Regions from separate parts of the Homo sapiens genome. Here region 2 is linked to region 1. Evidence: promoter capture Hi-C in human tissues and cell types (Jung and others, 2019). All regions are on one chromosome and are shown on one strand. Each heading gives the region's core, a stretch centred on a gene start or on the middle of the fragment in contact. The rest is flanking DNA. Distances are from core to core; before and after follow the strand shown.

The links. The method cuts DNA at HindIII sites, captures the fragments that hold promoters and counts their contacts. A contact is called where the count stands out against the background at its distance.
Region 2: the fragment with the promoter of TNFSF14 here is called in contact with the fragment with the promoter of TUBB4A in region 1 in 2 of the 25 tissues and cell types used here (spleen and stomach).

Annotation. Positions count from the first base shown.
Region 1 is chr19:6,501,058-6,503,757 of GRCh38, forward strand. It overlaps TUBB4A (tubulin beta 4A class IVa), which reads right to left and starts at 1,252. Exons shown (of 4, transcript NM_006087.4): 1 at 1,099-1,252; 2 at 458-566; 3 at 230-340. The coding sequence starts at 1,155. RefSeq lists silencers at 769-878, 1,049-1,228, 1,239-1,508. The HindIII fragment of the contact is 15,381 bases long and covers 1-2,700 here.
Region 2 is chr19:6,668,839-6,671,538 of GRCh38, forward strand. TNFSF14 (TNF superfamily member 14) reads right to left here and starts at 1,322. Exons shown (of 4, transcript NM_001376887.1): 1 at 1,013-1,322. The coding sequence starts at 1,231. RefSeq lists enhancers at 1-181, 1,082-1,171, 1,552-1,781 and a silencer at 2,352-2,451. The HindIII fragment of the contact is 26,746 bases long and covers 1-2,700 here.

The DNA.
Region 1 (2,700 bases), core at 2-2,501:
GCCACCTCCTCCAGGAAGACTTCCCTGAATCCTTCTCTGTATCCGCCCTCCTCAGGGCTCTCACAGTGGCCTGAGCATCCCCTCATCACAGCCCTGGATGCAGGGCTGGTGCCTGGTGCCCTGTCCACCCCATCTCTGGTCTGTGGGCCCCGGTGGTGGCTGTTGACTCTGTGGTGTTAGCAGGAATAAGGAGGTTTTCCAGCCTCTGGCTCCCTGCTGGGGGACTCACCAAACACGAAGTTGTCCGGCCGAAAGATCTGACCGAAGGGGCCAGAACGGACAGAGTCCATGGTGCCGGGTTCCAGGTCCACCAGCACCGCTCTGGGGACATAATTTCCTCCTGCAGGGAAACAGATGGAGGGCAGTTCGATGCGTGCCAGGAACCACAGGCGCCCGGTAGCATCCTGTTCCCTCCCAGCTGCCCCTTCCCACCTGGAAGGTGCCTCCTTCGCCCTACCTGTGGCCTCGTTGTAGTACACGTTGATCCTCTCCAGTTGCAGGTCACTGTCCCCATGGTATGTGCCTGTGGGGTCGATGCCATGTTCGTCACTGATAACCTCCCAAAACTAGAGAGAGAGGTGGTCGGAAGAGTTGAGAGAGGGGAAGCCGGTGGCCAAGCCGAGGACTGCCCCCAGCCCCCAACTAGCTCCCTAGCTGCCACCTCTCCCCCAGCAAGGTGAACGGGGGACCTAGAGGCATGGTGTCGGGGCGAGGATGAGGCAGCAAGAAGGAGCGGTGGGGGCGGGGTGCAGCCGAGTCAGCACCCAGCGGGGCCGGCTGGTGCCAGCGCACCCAGGCTGCAGCCCGGGGGAGGCACCGGGGCTCTTTGTGCGTGAGGAGGGGACAGTGGCCCAGCTGTGGGCCCAGCTGTGACAGGCGGACAGAAGGCTGGCTCCCACTCTCCGCAGCCTCTTTGTTCCCAGTCTGGCCCTGCCACCCCCACCCCGCGACCCTTCCCCCAAGGCCCCTGGGGCGCGCTGGCCTCCTGGGGACCTCATTCCTTTCCAAAGACTCCCAGGTTGCGGGGTGCTCCGGGGACCGACCCCGCGGTGCTCCCCGGGGCCGCCACTGCCTCCCCGGGCCCCGTTCCCCGAGCACCTTGGCCCCGATCTGGTTGCCGCACTGGCCGGCCTGCAGGTGCACGATCTCCCGCATGGCGGTGGCGCTGAGGGTGGACGCGGCGGCGGTGGCACGAGCGCGGGGAGCTGCGGCGGCGGCGAGGGTGGAAGATGCGGCGGAGACGGCGGAGCACGGTCCCTGCGCCCCCGGGAGCCGCTATATGAGCGGGCGGGGCACGCGTCACGGCCGGTCACCCTCCCGCTCCGCCCCTTGGTCCCGCCCCGGGATGATGGAGGGGGCTGGGGTGGGGGGAGGTGGTGCAGGGACCTCCCTCCCCAGGGGGCCTCCCAGAGAAGTCCGGGACGCCACGTGCTCCGACCCCTGCCTTGGGGGTGAGGCCCCTTAGGGAGCCACCAGTGCAGTCTCCCCCGTCCCAGCCCCCAGCCAGGCTTGGCCACCCGCAGAAATTGGGCGGAGGAAGGGAGGGGAGCGCCTGGTAAACAGGCATCTGAGAAGTCCTGCCCCTCCCCCTTAGCCTCCACCCTCCCGCCCCAGGCCTTGCCTCAGTTTCTCGGTCCGCAGCCCCCCTTCTCATTCTATTTAGACCTCATTCGCCAGAATCCTTGCAGTAACCGCGAGCCCTCCCAGTGGGCTGGGGGCTCCGGAGCGGCGATCTGGTTTGCGGGTGGGGGGCGGTAGGTTCCTGGAGGGCTTGTCCTGAAGCTGCATAGTAAAACCACGATTTTCCTCCCATGATTGGGTGCAGATGCTGGTGGGCTCCCCTGGTACACCTCTACTGGGCATTGAGCTCGTCCCAGGTGGGGTCACCCCCAGCCTGGCCTAAGGAGGAGAGTGGAGGAGTAAGACAGCTGGGTTCATATTGGGAGGGGGACAGTGAGTCCCCAGGGCTGCCTCGCTTTCCCAAAATAACACCCCTCCTCTCCAGTATTGTAATTTATCTTTATCTATATCTATACCCTTTTTTTTTTTTTTTTGAGACAGAGTTTCGCTCTTGGCGCCCAGGCTGGAGTGCAATGGCCCAATCTCGGCTCACTACAACCTCAGCCTCCCAGGTCCAAGCGATTCTCCTGCCTCAGCCTCCCGAGTAGCTGGGATTACAGGCATGTGCCACCACGCCCGGCTAATTTTTTTGTATTTTTAGTAGAGACAAAGTTTCTCCATGTTGTTCAGGCTGGTCTCAGACTCCTGACCTCAGGCCATCTGCCCACCTCTGCCTCCCAAAGTGCTGGGATTACAGGCGTGAGCCAACGCGCCCGGCCTATATATATATATTTTCGGACAGGGTCTTGCTCTGTCCCTCAGGCTGTAGTGCAGTGGCATGCTCATAGCTCACTGCAGCCTCAATGTCCTGGGCTCAAGCAATCCTCTCACCTCAGCCTCCCAAGTAGCTGGGACTGCAGGTGCATGCCATCACGCCTGGCTAATTTTCAAGATTTTTTGTAGAGATGGGGTCTCGCTATGTTGTCCAGGCTGCTCTCCAACTCCTGAGCTCAAGAGATCCTCCTGCCTCAGCCTCCCAAAGTGCTGGGATTCCAGGCATGAGCCACTGCGCCCAGCTCAGTATTATAATTTATTACCCACCATCTCCCTTGCCTCTGCATTTCCTGTAGCATTAGGTGT
Region 2 (2,700 bases), core at 72-2,571, 170 kb after region 1:
TGGACATGTGGTTTGTGGTTTATGGATCCATGTGCGTCTACAGACACAGAGACCCAGAGACAAAGACAGACAACGTGAATACACCGGCTGCAGCTAGGCGGGTGTGTGGACATGTGGGTACACGCACATACGTCCACATGGGTATATGGACACGAATGTGTGGCCACCGGATCCAGACCCAGGACACAAAAGGGGCCAAGCCCACAGGGGTATGGTGTTGGGCACACATAGACCCCCAGGTGAGGCACACAGACAGGCGGACACATCCACAGCCAGCTGGAAGCAGACCGAGAAATTTCCACAGATGGAAATGGTCAGAGAATTAATGACAATCGCAGTAACAGTAATAAGAGTACCAGAGAAGGCCAGGCGCAGTGGCTCACACCTGTAATCCCAGCACTTTGGGAGGCTGAGGCGGGTGGATCTCCTGAGGTCGGGAGTTTGAGACCAGCCTGACAAACATAGAGAAGCCCCATCTCTACTAAAAATACAAAATTGGCCAGGCGTGGTGGCGCATGCCTGTAATCCCAGCTACTCGGGAGGCTGAGGCAGGAGAATCACTTGAACCCGGGAGGCAGAGGTTGCGGTGAGCAGAGATCATGCCATTGCACTCCAGCCTGGGCAACGAGAGTGAAACTCCGTCTCAAAAATAAAAAAGTACAGAGAAAATGCATGCGTGTGTGCACAGGGGTGTGCATGGCAGTGTTGGGGTGTCAGTTCCGACGGGTGGAGCTGGCATCGTCTGGTACTACACATGCCATAGCATACTTCGTCCCCTATGAAGAGACTGCCCTTATTTTGTAGATGAAGACACTGAGGTTCAGAGAGGTGAATTCACTTGCCCAAGGCTGGGAGCAGCAACCAGTCAAGCCAGCTGCTCTCAGCCTGTGCCCTGTCCTACACACACACACACACACACACACACACACACACACAGACACACAGTGACCCACAATGACACAGGGGAGCCCCCCTCACCTCCACCTGCTCTCAGCCCCCCGGTCCCACTCACAGGCAGGCGGGTGACCATCTCTCCTAGACGCCAGTGCAGCTGCAGGAGGAACCAGCCTTGGACGGCCAGCCCGGCCCCCATCAGCAACAGCAAGAGACCCAGACCCACCCGGGCCACACTGCACGACTGTCTCCGGTGGCTTCGTCCCAGCCTCGTGAATGGGATGTCGGTCTGTCCATCCACCACAAACACTGAGGGCCGTACGACACTCTCCTCCATGCCCAAGGTGTCTGGAGCAGGGCTGACACGCCTGGGTCCTTCAACCTCAGAGGAAACCGAAATTGCTCAACACTCCTGGGCTGTGCACGCTGCGGACAGGCACCCGTGGGCCGCCTTTAGAGCTGGGGTTCAGCCCCACCCCTTCCCCCACTCACCCTCCTCTTCTTCCGGTACCCGCCGCCCCCGGTCTTGGCCCTGTCTCACTCTCACTCATACAGACTCTCACACTTTCCAGAGGCTTCTGAAAATGTGACTCAGGTGGCAAGTGCAGTGGGGAGCCCCCAGCTTTCCCTTCTTGGATGCTTCATTCGCTTGGGGCCACCAAATATCGACTGAGGACTTTCTGCCCATGCCAGGCTCTGCTCTCGGTGTGGGGGATGCAGCAATGAACAACAGCAAGAAGGGTCCCTGCTCCTCTTCTGGTGGAGCCAGAGAGACAAGAAACCTCGTAAACAAGAAAATAATACGTTGTGGGTTTTTTTGTTCGTTTATTTGTTTTGTTTTTGAGATGGAGTCTCGCTCTGTTGCCCAGGCTGGAGTGCAGTGGCGCGATCTCAGCTTACTACAACCTCCACCTCCTGGGTTCAAGCAATTCTCCTGCCTCAGCCTCCCAAGTAGCGGGGATTACAGGCGCGTGCCACCACGCCTGGCTGCTTTTTGTATTTTTAGTAGAGATGGGTTTTCACCATGTCGGTCAGGCTGGTCTCGAACTCCTGACCTCAAGCGATCCACCCACCTCAGCCTCCCAAAGTGCTGGGATTACAAACGTGAGCCGCACCATGCCCGGCCTTCTGTTGTGTTTTGATGTGACAAGTGCAGTGAAAAACACAAGAGTGGAATAAAGGAGTGGATGTGTGCTCTGTGTGTGTGCTTGTCTGCATGCATATATGTGTGCAGTGTGTGCATGTGAATGTGTGTATTCAGTTGTGTGCATGCAAGTGTGTATCATGTACACATGTGCAGGCGCATGCCTGTGTATCATACATGTGCTGGCATGTAAATGTGCGTGCATATGTGGGCAGGTGCATGCATATGTGTATGGTCATCTGTGTGCATGTGCATGTGGTCCATGTACATGCATGCATGTGCACGTGTGTGTATGTGTGAACATGCATCACATGTGCAAGTGGGTGTGCATATATGTGCTGTGTGCAGGTGTGTGCATGTGTGTGTGCCTGTGCATTGGTGCGTGTATGTGTGTGTGCGCACTTGCACGGGTGTGTTCATGTGTGTGGGGAGGTCCATGTATGAGTGTGCATGCATTCAAGCGTGGATTTTTTTTTTTTTCGAGACGGAGTCTCGCTCTGTCGCCCAGGCTGGAGTGCAGTGGTGCGATCTCGGCTCACTGCAAGCTCCGCCTCCCAGGTTCACGCCATTCTCCTGCCTCAGCCTCCTGAGTAGCTGGGACTACAGGCGCCCACCACCGCACCCAGCTAATTTTTTGTATTTTTAGTAGAGACGGGGTTTCA